Regions from separate parts of the Homo sapiens genome. Here region 2 is linked to region 1. The links are contacts of gene promoters, found by promoter capture Hi-C in blood cells and fetal thymus (Javierre and others, 2016). All regions are on one chromosome and are shown on one strand. The core of a region is centred on a gene start or on the middle of the fragment in contact, and the rest is flanking DNA. Distances in the headings are between cores, read along the strand shown.

Region 1 (7,277 bases), core at 1,435-3,934:
AAGTTGCAAGAACAGTACAACGATCTACCACATACCCTTTTACCTACCTTTTACCTATTTTATCAATTTAAAACTTTGCCACATTTGCCTTATCTATCTGTGCTAAACTACTTGACAGTAAGTTGCATATATCAAAAGGTTTTTTTTTGTTGTTTTTTGTTAGAGTCTCACTCTGTCACCCAGGCTAGAGTGCAGTGGTATGATCTTGGCTCACTGCAACCTCCGCCTCCCAGGTTCAAGCGATTCTCCCACCTCAGCCTCCAGAGTAGCTAGGATTACAGGCGCACCACCACCCAGGCTGGTCTTGAACTCCTGACCTCAAGTGATATGCCCACCTCGGCCTGCCAAAGTGTTGGGATTACAGGTGTGAGCCACCACGCCCGGCCAAAAATTTTATACCTAATTGTTTAGTGTGTATCTCCTAATAACGGATACTCTCTCTTATAATCACAGTACAATTATAAAATTCAAGAAGTTTAACACTGAAACAGTATCTTATCTAATATGTAATCCATATTCAAATTTCAGTAGTTGTTCTGAAATATTCCTTTATAGCATGTTTTTTCAAGACCACATGTTGCCTTTAGTGCCATGCCTTTTTAAATCCCTTAAATCTAGAATGGTTCCTCAGCCTTTCTTTGACTTTCATGACACTGATGTTTTTTAAGGATACAGGTCAGTTGTTGAGTAGAATGTTTCTTAGTTTGCATCTTTCTGATGTTTCTAGATCATAATATGCATTTTTGACAGGAATACTACTTAAGAGATATTGTAACCTCAGTGCCTCACATCTGGAGGCACATCATGTCATTTTATCACATAATTGGTGACATTAACTTTGATCATTTGGTTAGGGTAGTGTCGGTCAGATTTCTCCACTGTAGAGGTACCCTTGTTAACCCTTTATCATGAATAAGAAATCCAAAGACTGTGCAAATATCTTGTTCCCCAGCCAAATTTTATTCAATGATTTTAACATCTATTGATAATTGTCTGAATCCATTATTACTGTAATGGCTGCCAAATGATTTGCTAATTGTCATTTCTTCTAACATATATTAGTTGGCATTCCACCGTCATTTCACTTCTCCCCTCTTTATTTTTCTGTTTAAAAGTAAGTATGCTCTACGATTCTTTTAAAAAATTCAATGTGTTAGAATCAATTTCTATATTTATTTATTTATTTATTTATTTACTGAGACAGAGTCTCGCTCTGTCGCCCAGGCTGGAGTGCAGTGGCACGATCTCGGCTCACTGCAACCTCTGCTTCCCTGGTTCAAGCAATTCTCCCTGCCTCAGCCTCCCGAGTAGCTGGGATTATAGGCGCCCACTACCACGCCCGGCTAATTTTTGCATTTTTAGTAGAGATGGGGTTTCACACAGGCTAGTCTTGAACTCCTGACCTCAGGTGATCCACCCGCCTCAGCCTCCCAAAGTGCTGGGATTACAGGCGTAAGCCACTAAGCCCGGCCCATTATTTATTCCTGATACTCAAACTGTCTCAGATTTGGTAAGGGGGGAGCACCTTCGAGCCATCTGCTTTCTTTTGACATATCTTCCTTGACATAGCCAAGAAATCTCCTTGCTTTAAGGAGCAGGATCTTTCAAGGGCATTTTATACTTTCCCTGTCTCTGCCCTCGAATGAGCCATCTCGCCACGGAGTCTGGCTCCTTTAGGTGGAGAATGGTATTTAGAAACCAAGATATAAAGGCATATGATACATCTCAAAATAGTGAGGTGTCACTGTCCCTGTTTCCTTGAGTCACATTTGGAAGCGTGGTGTGATTTATAATCCTACCTCGACTATTGCCTGTGTGACCTAGGCAATTCCCTTTATTCCTTGAGGTCTTCTTCGTCCTTTGGGGAAAAAAATTGGATTAGAGAAATATTTCTAAACTTTTTCAGAGTCACCAACGCGTTTGGGAATCTGACAGAAGCTACGGGTCCATCTCCCCAGAGACATGCTCACATAAGCAAAAACTGGCCTGTGTTTTAGGGGGTTCCAAACTCTGAAGCTCACATGAGGCTCCAAATCTCTGGATTAAGTGATCTCCAAGATCTCTTCAGCGCTGACATTGACATTCTGTGAGTCTATAAGCGACTGCACTGCTGTCAGAATGACTCCTCGGAGACATCAAAACGTGGAGGGTTTTATTATATATAGCAACGAGAAGAGAAAAGGACACAAAGAAAGGAGCCTGTGAGCAACGCATTGCTCAGCCACAGTTCTTTGCCGGTGCCAAATTTAGGACGCGCTGTACTTGTAGGTGAGAGGTTTTGGCGGGAAGGACCCCGGGTGGGCGGAGAACGCCGGGGCGGGGAAGGAGATCGCAGGCCGCATCCAGGTCTCTGCACCCCTCCGCACGGTCCGCCAGGGCTCGCTCTTGCCCTTCGCCTGGAAGGCCGAGGAACGGAGCGGGCCGAGCAGCGACCCCGCCCCTGGCAGCGGTGAGGCGGAGGGGCGAGGGGAGGGCGTCTGAGCCCGGAAGGAGCGCGCCGGCCAGGCTCGCGCCCCTCCCCGTGCGCCGTCCCCCACTCTCCAGCAGCCGACGTCGGCGGTGCTTCGGTCGCCATGGTGACCAATCCAGGCTCGGGCCCGCCCCCGCCCCCCTGCCCCGGCCCCCTGACGTCGGCGCACGTCAGCGGCGGCGCGCGCCTGGCTGGGCCCTGGGGAGCGGGAGGGAAGGAGCGAAGGAGCGAAGGAGCAAGCGGAGCGGCCGTCGCCCAAGCCAAGCCGCGCTGCCAACCCTCCCGCCCGCCCGCGCTCCTGTCCGCCGTGTCTAGCAGCGGGGCCCAGCATGGTCATGGCGGATGGCCCGAGGCACTTGCAGCGCGGGCCGGTCCGGGTGGGGTTCTACGACATCGAGGGCACGCTGGGCAAGGGCAACTTCGCTGTGGTGAAGCTGGGGCGGCACCGGATCACCAAGACGGAGGTGCGGCCCGGGGCTCGGCGGGAGCGTCCGAGGCGAGGGTTCGGGAGAGGAGCTGCTTACCGAGAGGGGCGGCCGCAGTGGTGGGACCGGGGAGACCCGAGAGGCCGCCTCACTGGCGGAGGCGAGCGGGCCTGGGACTGTGAGGACCCAGGAGGTGCAGGGGGTCGGTGAGCAGCGAAGGGATCGGGCCCGGGCACCCGGACCCGAGTGTCGTCCGACTGGAAACGCAACCAGCCGGGGCTTTGCTTTCCCCTACGCCACCCCCGGTGGCCACCCGGAATTTCGCCCAGAGCCCCCCACCCGGGCCGTGACCTGGTCTGTGGCCTCCGCTCCGGAGCCCAAGTTCCGCGTCTTCCCTGCTTTCGGCTGGGGGTGGGGTGGGAGGGGAAGTCTCGGTGTTCCCAGGCTGCGCCGTGAGAGACGTCGCCGGCCCGAGGAGGGGACCGCCTGCGCTTGGGCTCCGCGGATGGGGGATCGTGCGGCCCCCGTGACCCCGGCGCCCCTCCCCTGCCCGACGAGGAAGGGCCCCATGGCTGGGAATACCCCCACGGCCACTGTCCATCTCCTCTCCTTCCTTTTGGCCCAGGGTGTCTCTGATTTGGTGTCTGGCTAGCTTGATCTCTTGCCTGGGGCATTTCCATTTAATGCCCCAGACAATAGAACTGGTTAAAATGGTCATCTCTGCATTTGCACGGTGGGTGGATTGGTCTTCTACTTGTCTAGGGTTGTCACTGTACCAGGTGTGCATTCTGGCTGTAATACGCATTCTTTAAACCATATCAGATTCTGCCTCTACTCATAAAGCCCTCAACTGCTTCCTGACGGTGAATCCTGCACCCTCTTCATTGCACATTCTAATGCACCGCACATACTCTCTCACAAGTCTCTGTTCTTACCTAACCCGCCCCCCTTCCTTCCACTGCCTCAAGCTGCTCTCCTCAGGGTCTCTATTTTAAGACGTGCAAATTAAATACCTTAGAAGAACGGTAGAAACAAAACCATTCTTTAGAATAAAACCTAGTGGTTTTGACGTACTCTACTCTGCCTTATTGTAGTTCCTCCTGGAGTTTCATCCTTTTCCTGTTTGTTTGCCCTCCAGTTTTGGTCCTATTCTGCTTTTTCCCTTGTTAGTACGAATGTACTGGAGTTTGAGTGTAGAATAAAGTAGGACTTCTTTTCAGAATGACTTATGTAAGGCGAAGGGCACTTGCAAACGTGAGTGATTTTTGGAGTTGCAGTTGTACTTAGAAGTTTTGCTTAATCCCGTTTCCAAAAGGAAGGGGTATATGTCATTCTGTCTTCTTTACTTTTTGCCTTCCCCTGCTGGTCCTGAACCAGTCCAAATCTGACTTATCTTTTAGAATCAGGACCAAGGTCAGATATTTTCTTCTCACAGATTTACCAGTTAGCAATTTAGATTGTTTGTAATGATAATGATAACTTGACTATAGTGATATTGTTAAATCTTAATCTGATCCCAGCATTTTTTAAAATGAAGAAATTGGTTCCATTCCTCTGAAGAGCCATGGCCTATGCCATGCCATTTCCCTTTAAGTTACATAAAAGAAGGCATTTTAAATGCATGTTTTATGAGTCCTTGCTTAATGACTTTCTAAAAACAAACAAATTGTGAGTTATAGAGAGGTTCTACAAAACTTTTGAACTGTAGTATATCGTGTGGTTGAATTCCAAATCCATCAGTTCTTAATATTTTTTTCTCATCAGCTCTTACTGGGATTAATAGCAAGATTTAATTAAGTCATCTATTATTTATCAGGTCAAATTTAGTTAATACAGTAAGAGCTGCTTAAGTGGAGTGATTGACACTTTGAGGTTGACAATTCAAATGGTGTCCGTTTTAAACTAATATATCTTAAAGAGCTAGGGGGCACTATGGAGTAATACCGTGGTTTGGCTATCAGAGTGAGATCAATGCATTCATTTGTAATTGGAACAAGCACCGGTCAGATCGTGAAAGAGGACTTAGATCCTAAATCGTGTGTGTAGTATATATGTGTAAAATGATTTACGTTAAAAGCTAAATGTTTAGTCCGCAGAACCCATTTCCCTGTGCTTTTCTAAAGAAGCTGTTATTAACATATAAAAAGAAATAGTGTGAATTTGAGATGGGTGAGGGTATCTGTGGTAATTTGGTGGGTGTGATTGGAGATATTAAGGTAGAGAGGGATAAGTGAAATGTCAAAGCAATCTTTGAACAGAAAAGTTCTCTGGATCTCTAGGTTGTAAAGTTGCTCTGAATTTTTTTTTTTTTTTTTTGAGACGGAGCCTCGCTCTTGTTGCCCAGGCTGGCTGGAGTGCAGTGGTGCGATCTCGGCTCACTGCAACCTCTGCCTCCTGGGTTCGAGCGATTCTCCTGCCTCACCCTCCCAAGTAGCTGGGATTACAGGCGCTCACCACCATGCCCGGCTAATTTGTGTGTTTTTAGTAGAGACGGGGTTTCACAGTGTTGGCCAGGCTGGTTTCGAACTCCTGACCTCAAGTGATCCACACGCCTTGGCCCCACAAAGTGCTGGGATTACAGGCGTGAGCCACCGCGCCTGGCCCAATTGTTTCTTAAAGTATTCCATGGGAGTAACAATTCCATTGTTAATGATGTTTTTTACAGCAGTTATTTATCCTTATTCGTTCATTCACTGGATAAATGTTTGTGTGTTTTTGATAAATACAACTACCTTAAAAACTATAAGATGTTTAATTAAAACTTTTGTTTTAAATTCAGTTTTCATGGCAGAACATACTACAGTAGTTATAGTGGAACAATGAATATGGTATAAAAATAATATCAGCAAAATATCACAATTATACTTATTGACGATAAAAGTTTCTTTATATACTATGCTTTAACATCGATACAAGTTTGTGTGTTTTAAAACTTAGAGGTCTTTTTTCCCAAGTTTGACTCTGAGGCAAATTTTAGGGCTTAATCATCTATGTAATGAGCAATTAGGACCCTTTTATTTTTAACTGGTTCTTCTCTGTCTCTTGTTCTATATCACTCACAAATGATGTATTTCTACAGAACTTGGGAGATTCAAGTCTGTTTCCCTTTTAGGAAAAAAATAGTGGACAAAAGAGATCTTCGTTTTGGTCGAATCTATCAAACAGTTTAACATTGTTTATGAAATATAATTACATCATCATCTGAAGTGGTATTGTGTTAGATCTCGATGTGAATTTTGCATCCAAAGGGGAAGACAGGTGGTGGTAGAATCCAGCTTCCTAATACGCTTTGCAAAGGCTTTGTAGTATTAGTTTGTGGTTTATGAATTAGAGATGCTAATTTTATAAAATTAGCATAATGGGAAAAGAATAATAGCATGTCAGCTGTTAAACTTTGAGGCAATAGTGGTTGCTTGTTTGCTATTCAGTGAGTGTCCTTGAGTAGTTTATTTTATCAATACTATACAGTATTAGGAAATAACTTTTTCCTTCTAGTTAGTGGTATAGCTAGTTTTTTGTCTCTTAAGTAAAATTCTAGAAAAGCCAATTGTATCCTTAAATGTTTTTGTATTCTATTTAAGAAACAGTTTCTTTCTTGTTGCTTTCAGGACAAAAGAAAGAAAAATAAATAAAGAAGTAGTCTCTTATTATAATATAAAAAATAAGAGTATAGTGAACAAAAAAGTATACATATAATTCCTCCACTAATGGGAATAACCCATTCTTAACATTATGGCACTAGTCTTTTTATTTAAATGCATTTTTTCCATAGATGAAAGCACATGGTACATATATATAAATTATGTTCTTTTTTCTACTTAATATTATAACCTAGGCGTTTTGTTTATTATATATAACTTTATAAAAACATTTTTGTTAGCTGCATGGTGTTCTACCTTGTGGATGAATATCGTTTTACCTAACAATTCCCTTATTAATGAATATTATGCAATTTTCAGTTTTTGTTTATAGTAAATAATACGCAGTGAATATTTTTGTGCCTATAACTGAGTGTGCATTTTACATTTTTTTTAGGGAGGAGAAATTGCTGGTAAAGTCCTAAAAGGAAATTTCCTAAGTAACAAGGTATTATTTTTACATTAAAGAGTAGTGTATTTTTATTACCAAATCTGTCGTGTTTATTATTGAGAAATTTAAAAGTATAAATAGGAGGCCAGGCTAGATGGCTGACACCTGTAATCCCAGCACAGTGGGAGGCCAATGCAGATGGGTTGCTTGAGGCCAGGAGTTGGAGACCAGCCTGGTCAATATAGCAAGACCCAGTCTCATTAAAAAGAAAAAAAAAAAAACTTATAAATAAATGAAAAGAATTCCCCATAAAATCACAACCCCAAAGATAACCATAACTAGTTATTTTCAGA
Region 2 (7,277 bases), core at 2,188-4,687, 84 kb after region 1:
CTTGCTCCGTCTCCCAGGCTGGCATGCAGTGGCGTGATCTCGGCTCACTGCAACCTCCACCTCCCAGGTTCAAGCGATTCTCCTGCCTCAGCCTCCTGAGTAGCTGGGATAACAGGTGGCCGCCACCATGCCTGACTAATTTTTGTATAGTTAGTTGAGATGGGGTTTCGCCAGGTTGGCCAGGCTGGTTTCGAACTCCTGACCTCAGGTGATCCGCCCGCCTCAGCCTCCCAAAGTGCTGGGATTACAAGTGTGAGCTGCCACACCAGCCCATCAATAAGGTTTTTAATGTGAAACATAAATGTGCTTTTTGTATGTTAACTTCAAGACCATGTGCGTTAACTTGAGCTTGGATTGTGTTCCTTGAAGGGGTTGATGTATGCCTAAACAAATTTTATTTGCAGCCACATGTTTCTGGCTCACTTACTTCTATTACTGATTTCTCAGCAGATGTTACAGTTTTCAAGGATGCCTACACTGCAGAAATCATAAAGCATGGGGAAGATAATAGATACACTGGAATGCCTGCCGAGATTTTCACCTGAAGAGTGAAAGTGCCACTTCTCTAAATAGTTTGTCTCTGGAATTTAGACCATTTTTCTCACACTGTGTGTGAGATTACATTTACTGATAGGTGATGATTCTGTCTTTACATGGTAACTTTAGATTCAGATATACAATGCCTTTGTTTTTCAGACAGTGCCTTCCTGCTGCCACGTTTCAAACTTTTTCTTTCCCCTTGCCTGTGGTACTCCCAATTTGGACTGATAGCTTCAAAAAACAATAACTATAGATTCCATTGTGCTTCCTAGGACTCATTTTGTAGTCAGTAGTTTGGGGTCTCTTTCTATATATGTAAACTTCCACTCATTCACATTAAATCTGTTAGATTTCTCTGTGTTGCCAAAAATCTCAAAAATCTTTCCCACTAACCTCCATTGACTCAGCACTTTCTTCAGGGAAAAAAAAAAGTTGTCTATTTGGACAAGTCAGTCATTTGTCCATGAAAAAATGGTCTCATTTAGCGGTACAGCTTAAATAGCATTTTGTGTGGAATCTTAGGAGAGATATTATTAACTACTCAAAAGATATTCTCTTATAGAAAGCATATTGGCATTCCCCTCAGTAGGTTATATTTGCCCAAAGGTCCGTATTTATAGTGGACTTCCCAGCTCATCCAGTGTAGAAGTGAGCCTCTGGTTCGCTCTTATGCAGAGAAGGCACATTGTCTACTTGCCAGTTCTTAAACATAATCTGTCTCTGTTGGCAGTTTGGACATTTTGACTAAAAATTATGCATACTTGTTCTTAAGTGATCTGTTCTCCCTTAGAATTATGGATAGCTACTATGCAGGTTCTGCAAAGGCAAGAGGAAGATGTAATGAGCTGACCATCTCAGTTTCTGATGCCAACCCATAAAAAAGAATAAAATGCCCACTTACATTTAAAGCCTGTAATATTTAGAATATGGCTAATAGCTAAGTACTAAGAATTATACATGGGATGCTTTGTGCTTATGCTTAGTGCTAAGCATTGCAGAGTACAAAAGAGAATAATATGGTTCCTGTCTTCAGGAAGCTTAAATGAAGTTGTCTTTAATACTTCAAAACACTATGTGTTAGAGCCGCAGTCCCCAACCTTTTAAATGGCACCAGTGACCAAATAAGTGGAGGACAATTTTTCCCAGGTTGGGGAGGATGATTTGGGGATGAAACTGTTCCACCTCAGATCATCAGGCATTAGTTAGATTCTCAAAAGGAGCATTCAACTTAGATCCCTCACATGTGCAGTTCACAATAGGGTTCACATTCCTATGGCAGGGGGCCGGGTTCCTAACAGGCCATGGACCAGTGCTGGTCCGTGACCCAGGGGTTGAGGACCCCTCTTTTAAAGTAAGGGCTATGTGTATACACATGTGTGTGTACCTTGGGATATTTGTGATACACATGCAGATTATTACATACAGTGTGAGGCAGTGTATGATAAGTGACAAGGTGTTGAGAGAACAGGTTATTTCTGTTTGAAGTGAAGAGGGACTTAAGGTCAAGGTGGCATTTAATTAGAGTTTCGAAAGGATGGTTAGGGTCTGGTGTGATGGCTCACACCTGTAATCCCAGCACTTTGGGAGGCCAAGGCAGGAGGATTGCTTGAGTCCAGGAGTTTGAGCCCAGCCTGAACAACAGAGTGAGACCTCATCTCTACAAAAAATAAAATATTAATAATTAGCCAGATGTGGTGACATGCATCTGTAGTCCCAGCTGCTCAGGAGGCTGAGGTGGAAGGATTGATTGAATCCAGGAGGTTGAGGTTGAGGTGAGCTATAATTGCACACTGTACTGCACCCTGGGCAACAAAAGAGTGAGGCCCTGACTAAAAAATAAATAAACAAATAAAATAAAAGGATGGTTAGGATTTCAACAGGAGTCTAGTAAAGATGCTTAATATAATAAAAAAATTATGTCAAATATTACAGCCCCAGATTGACTGTTCAGTCACCAGTTGTACAAATTCAGCCAGATTACTTAATCCCTCTGATTGTCAGCTTTCTCATCTATAAAATGGGAATTGAGTAATAGTTATCATAGAAGGTTTTAGGAAGATGAAATGAGACACTGTGATATGAACATGCTTTGTAAAGTATAAAGTATTGTATAAATGTTAGTAAATTTTATAGTAAGTAGGCCAGGCATGGTGGCTCACACCTGTAATCCCAGCACTTTGGGAGGCCAAGGCGGGCAGATCACCTGAGGTCAGGAGTTTGACACCAGCCCGGGCAACATGGTGAAACCTCGTCTCTACTACAAATACAAAATTTAGCCAGGCGTGGTGGTGTGCACCTGTAGTCCCAGTTATTCGGGAGGCTGAGGCATGAGAATTGCTTGAACCTGGGGAGCAGAGGTTGCAGTGAGCCAAGATTACACCACTGCACTCCAGCCTAGGCGACAGACAAGACTCTGTCTCGAAAAACTAAAGAAAAAAATACATAGTAAATATTGAGAAGGACATGAGCCAAAGGCAGGGAATTTAAAAACCAGTAAGCTAGTAAACACTAGAGCAGAAAATGTGTGCAGGTGACTGGGAATATTGAGTCACTCATACAGTTCCCTAGTTAGGACAATTATGTTAAATTTAAAAGTCTTTCAAGATTTGTGTTGATCAAAAGATAATTTCAGAGGACTTTCAGGTCTTTGGGTGAAATGTTAATGAGTGGTAATGTTTAGTTTTATTGAATTGATGTACATAGTCACATAGAATTAATTTTTAGGTAAGCTTCTTTATTAAAGATTATAACATTGCATAAAGATAGTATATCTTGCAAAATATATTTGTCTTACAGTTGAGAGAATATGGTTGTCATGACAATGTTTGGTTTAGAGCACAAGTCTGCATGTTCTTGGGTAGACGAGAATTCTTTCGAACAGCACAGGGTGTGAATTATTTAAGCTACTTCCAGTTATCACCATATCTCATGTTACAGGTGGTTTGTATAATAATTGCATGAAAACAGTGTTTCAGAAAAGATGTCTTTCTGTGTGACAAGATGTCAGAGAATTCATTTATTTCCTCTGTTTTACATAAATTTTATTTTTTTAAAGTGTGAAATAATAAGCTTTTCAACAAATAGAGAGAGTACCTAGACATTAAAAAAATCATGTTGAGTTGTACTGTGAATATTATGCTGCTTGCTGCTGACTGGTCTTGGGCTGTCACCATTTATTTGGACTCCAGTGAAATATGATTAGAAATATTTCTTCAGGCTGGGCACGGTGGCTCACACCTGTAATCCCAGTACTTTGGGAGGCTGAGGCAGGAGGATCACGAGGTCAGGAGTTCGAGACCAGCCTGGCCAACGTGATGAAACCCCATCTATACTAAAAATACAAAAATTAGCTGGGCATGGTGGCAGGTACCTGCAATCCCAGCTACTCGGGAGGCTGAGGCAGAAGAATCATTTGAACCTGGGAGGTGGAGGTTACAGTGAGCTGAGATCACGCCACTACACTCCAGCCTGGGCAACAGAGCAAGACTCCATCTCAAAAAAAAAAAAAGAAAAAGAAATACTTCTTCAAAGTCAAGAAACTTGGAAAACACCATATTACTTTATCACTAATTATTGTTTTTTTTAAAAAAAAAAACTTTTTTTTTTGAGATAGAGTCTCACTCTCGTCCAGGCTGGAGGGCAGTGGTGCGATCTCGGCTCACTGCAAGCTCCACCTCCTGGGTTCACACCATTCTCCTGCCTCAGCCTCTCCAGTAGCTAGGACTACAGGCACCCGCCACCATGCCTGGCTAATTTTTTGTATTTTTAGTAGAGACGGGGTTTCACCGTGTTAGCCAGGATGGTCTCGATCTCCTGACCTCGTGATCTGCCCACCTCAGCCTCCCAAAGTGCTGGGACTACAGGCATGAGCCACTGCTCCTGGCCAGAAAAAAAACTTTTTGAGGAAAAAAATTTCCTGACTACTAATAGTGGAGTTATTTTATTTTGGTGACTAATTCTTAATCCTCTCTTCATTTACAGACTATCTTGCTAATCATGGCCGGTTAAATGAGTCTGAAGCCAGGCGAAAATTCTGGCAAATCCTGTCTGCTGTTGATTATTGTCATGGTCGGAAGATTGTGCACCGTGACCTCAAAGCTGAAAATCTCCTGCTGGATAACAACATGAATATCAAAATAGCAGGTAACTGGGACACAACTGGCTCTAATAAGATCCGAAGTGAGCCACTGCACTCAGTGTGTGGAAACAGACCTGCAGGCGCAGATTCAGCAGCATTTCTACCTGATGACATCAGGCTATCTCAAAGTCCATTTTATTCATTTCCTTAGTTCTGTGTGTAATTAAAAGTAAGGGAATGAGTTCATTATTAATATACACAGGTCAGAGCTACATCTGGGGTCTGATGTGTCCAGATTCCATTGGCAGGGTTTCGGGGTGCTCTGCTGGAAGAGGTACATTTATCTGAGTGTCAGAGTGACTGGAGAAAAGACAGGGCTGGAGGAGTAATGCTGGTTGCTGGTACTCTGGCCTGCTCTCCTAATTATGACTGATGGCTACAGCCAGAAGCAGAGAAAAGGCAAAAGAAGTGATGGAGGTAGAATGAGAAATAGTTGAGACAGAAAAGCACCTTTCCTTGATCTGATACGATAGGGTTTTGATTTATAACATGAAAATTAAGTTGGGTAGAGATTAGTTTGCCTGTTTTTCTCCTTGCCTTTTCACAGTTGTAAAATGTTTTATTTTATATTCTCAGTCTCTTTATTTACATAGTCAAAACTCTCATTCACTCAATAAATATGTATCAGGTACTGTGCTATGTTAAGTACAATATGATATGTGGAAATCATTTCACAACATATCCATATATAAAAATAGCATGTACACCTTGAATATACACAATTTTTGTCAATTACATTTTAATAAAACTGAAAAAATACAGTATGATAGTTGCAATTTTAAAAGTATATACAAACTGCATGGGAGTATAGGTGAGGGAACAAGCAGTCTACCTGAAGAGTCAGGGAAGCTTCACAAAGAAGGAATTATTTGAACTTAGACTTGAGAGAGAAGTTAGAGAAGCTTGTCAGGAAGATAAACAGAAGCAGAATGTTGCAGGCAGGTAGACAGAGATTGGAATGTTGGGGAACTGTAAATTCAAAACTGGTTACATGTAAAATCTGTAGGCATGCAGGATTGATACAGGGGGAGCAGATAAGTAAAGACCAGAATATGAAACATCTTGAATGCCATGTCAAAGATTTTATAGTTTATTCTGTAGGTAATGGGGAGTCTAGCCTACTGAAAATTATAGGGCATGGGTAGGGGTAAAGTGGAATTGGGATAACATGATTAGATTTGCATGTCAGAAATATGTCTCTGGCAGCAGAGTTAAGATAGGTGGGAGATGTGGGTGAGGTGGAAGACAGGAAGACTAATAAGGAATCTAGTGCAATAGTCCATTTAAGAAAACATGAGTCTGAACTAGAGCAGCAGCAGTAGAGGTTGAAGGTATGTAAGGGAGATTTTGTTTGACTTGGGTTTTGAAGAGAAAGAGTGTGGGTTAAAAGCTTAGCAAAGTTACACATGGTGGTGTTTTGTTCTAAGATTGTTAAAGAAGAGCAGGGAGACATCCAGATGACAGGGACTGACCAAGAAATTATTAATTGACCTGTTAGGTTGGATACTCATTGAACTTAGTAAGTTTAGGGACAAAGTAGCTTCCTCGGTTTGCTGTATATGGTGTAAAATATAAGGTAAAACCCTCATGTTTGTACATTGAACTGATTTGTTTCTGTGCCATTTCCCATTAGTTTTTGTCTTAGGCAATTAGGGGAAGGCAAATTATTTTTACTCATTTTAAATGTCAATATTACATATGTTACAGGATATGTAATGGATTTTCCATTCTATAGTCTGTGATTTTTTTTTTCTAATGGGATTGCCTGAATAAGACAAAATGTTTTTAAGTTAATTTGTTATATTCATTTGTGTGTGTGTGTATGTGTATATATATATATATATCACACATATACACGTATATATAAAGATTTATATCAATTTGTCATTTTTGTTGTGAAAATGTGATGCACAAAATTAGAATACTTTCATAGTTTATGTCTGTTCACTTCCATTTGTTTTTTTCCCTTCCTCTGCTTTTGGCCCTTCCATTTGGTGTCATTTATTTCACTCTTTTTTGCCAACCTTCTGTGAGGAACTTCACTGGGATATTTTGTTTAATGCTCCTTGAAAGCATCGGCTGCCCTAAAATTGTCTTTTTCAGAGAAGGTCTTTCTTTTTTTTTTTTTTTTTAAGTCCTTAGCTCTGTAGAAAGAAGGGGGAAAACTCCTGCTACACCTTTACATTCCCTTATTACCAAAACGAAATATTTACCAAAACAATAGCACAAAGGAGTTCTAGGAGTTGTTTTTTTTTCCAAGAGAACTATTTTATTTATTTTTTATTTTTTATTATTATTTTTTTACTTTAAGTTCTGGGATACATGTGCTGAATGTGCAGCTTTGTTACGTAGGTATACATGTGCCATGGTGGTTTGTTGCACCTATCAACTCGTCATCTAGGTTTTAAGCCCTGCATGGATTAGGTATTTGTCCTAAGGCTCTCCCTCCCCGCCTCCCCTCACCCCCAAAGAGGCCCCCATGTGTGATGTTCCCCTCCCTGTGTCCATGTATTCTCATTGTTCAACTCCCACTTATGAGTGAGAACATGTGGTGTTTGGTTTTCTATTCCTTTAGTTTGCTGAGGATGATGGTTTCCAG

Evidence for each region. The method cuts DNA at HindIII sites, captures the fragments that hold promoters and counts their contacts. A CHiCAGO score of 5 or more calls a contact.
Region 2: a contact is called between a fragment that was not itself captured here and the fragment with the promoter of SIK2 in region 1, in 1 of 17 cell types (total CD8 T cells). The highest score is 5.2, in total CD8 T cells.

What each region holds. Positions count from the first base shown.
Region 1 is chr11:111,599,765-111,607,041 of GRCh38, forward strand. SIK2 (salt inducible kinase 2) reads left to right here and starts at 2,685. Exons shown (of 15, transcript NM_015191.3): 1 at 2,685-2,934. The coding sequence starts at 2,800. RefSeq lists an enhancer at 2,071-2,210 and silencers at 2,301-2,740, 3,291-3,450. The HindIII fragment of the contact is 10,147 bases long and covers 1-7,277 here.
Region 2 is chr11:111,683,480-111,690,756 of GRCh38, forward strand. It overlaps SIK2 (salt inducible kinase 2), which reads left to right. Exons shown (of 15, transcript NM_015191.3): 4 at 4,522-4,683. It also overlaps a transcript of PPP2R1B not described here. Among named protein-coding and RNA genes, the nearest start is that of PPP2R1B, 79 kb to the right of the region's middle. The HindIII fragment of the contact is 340 bases long and covers 3,268-3,607 here.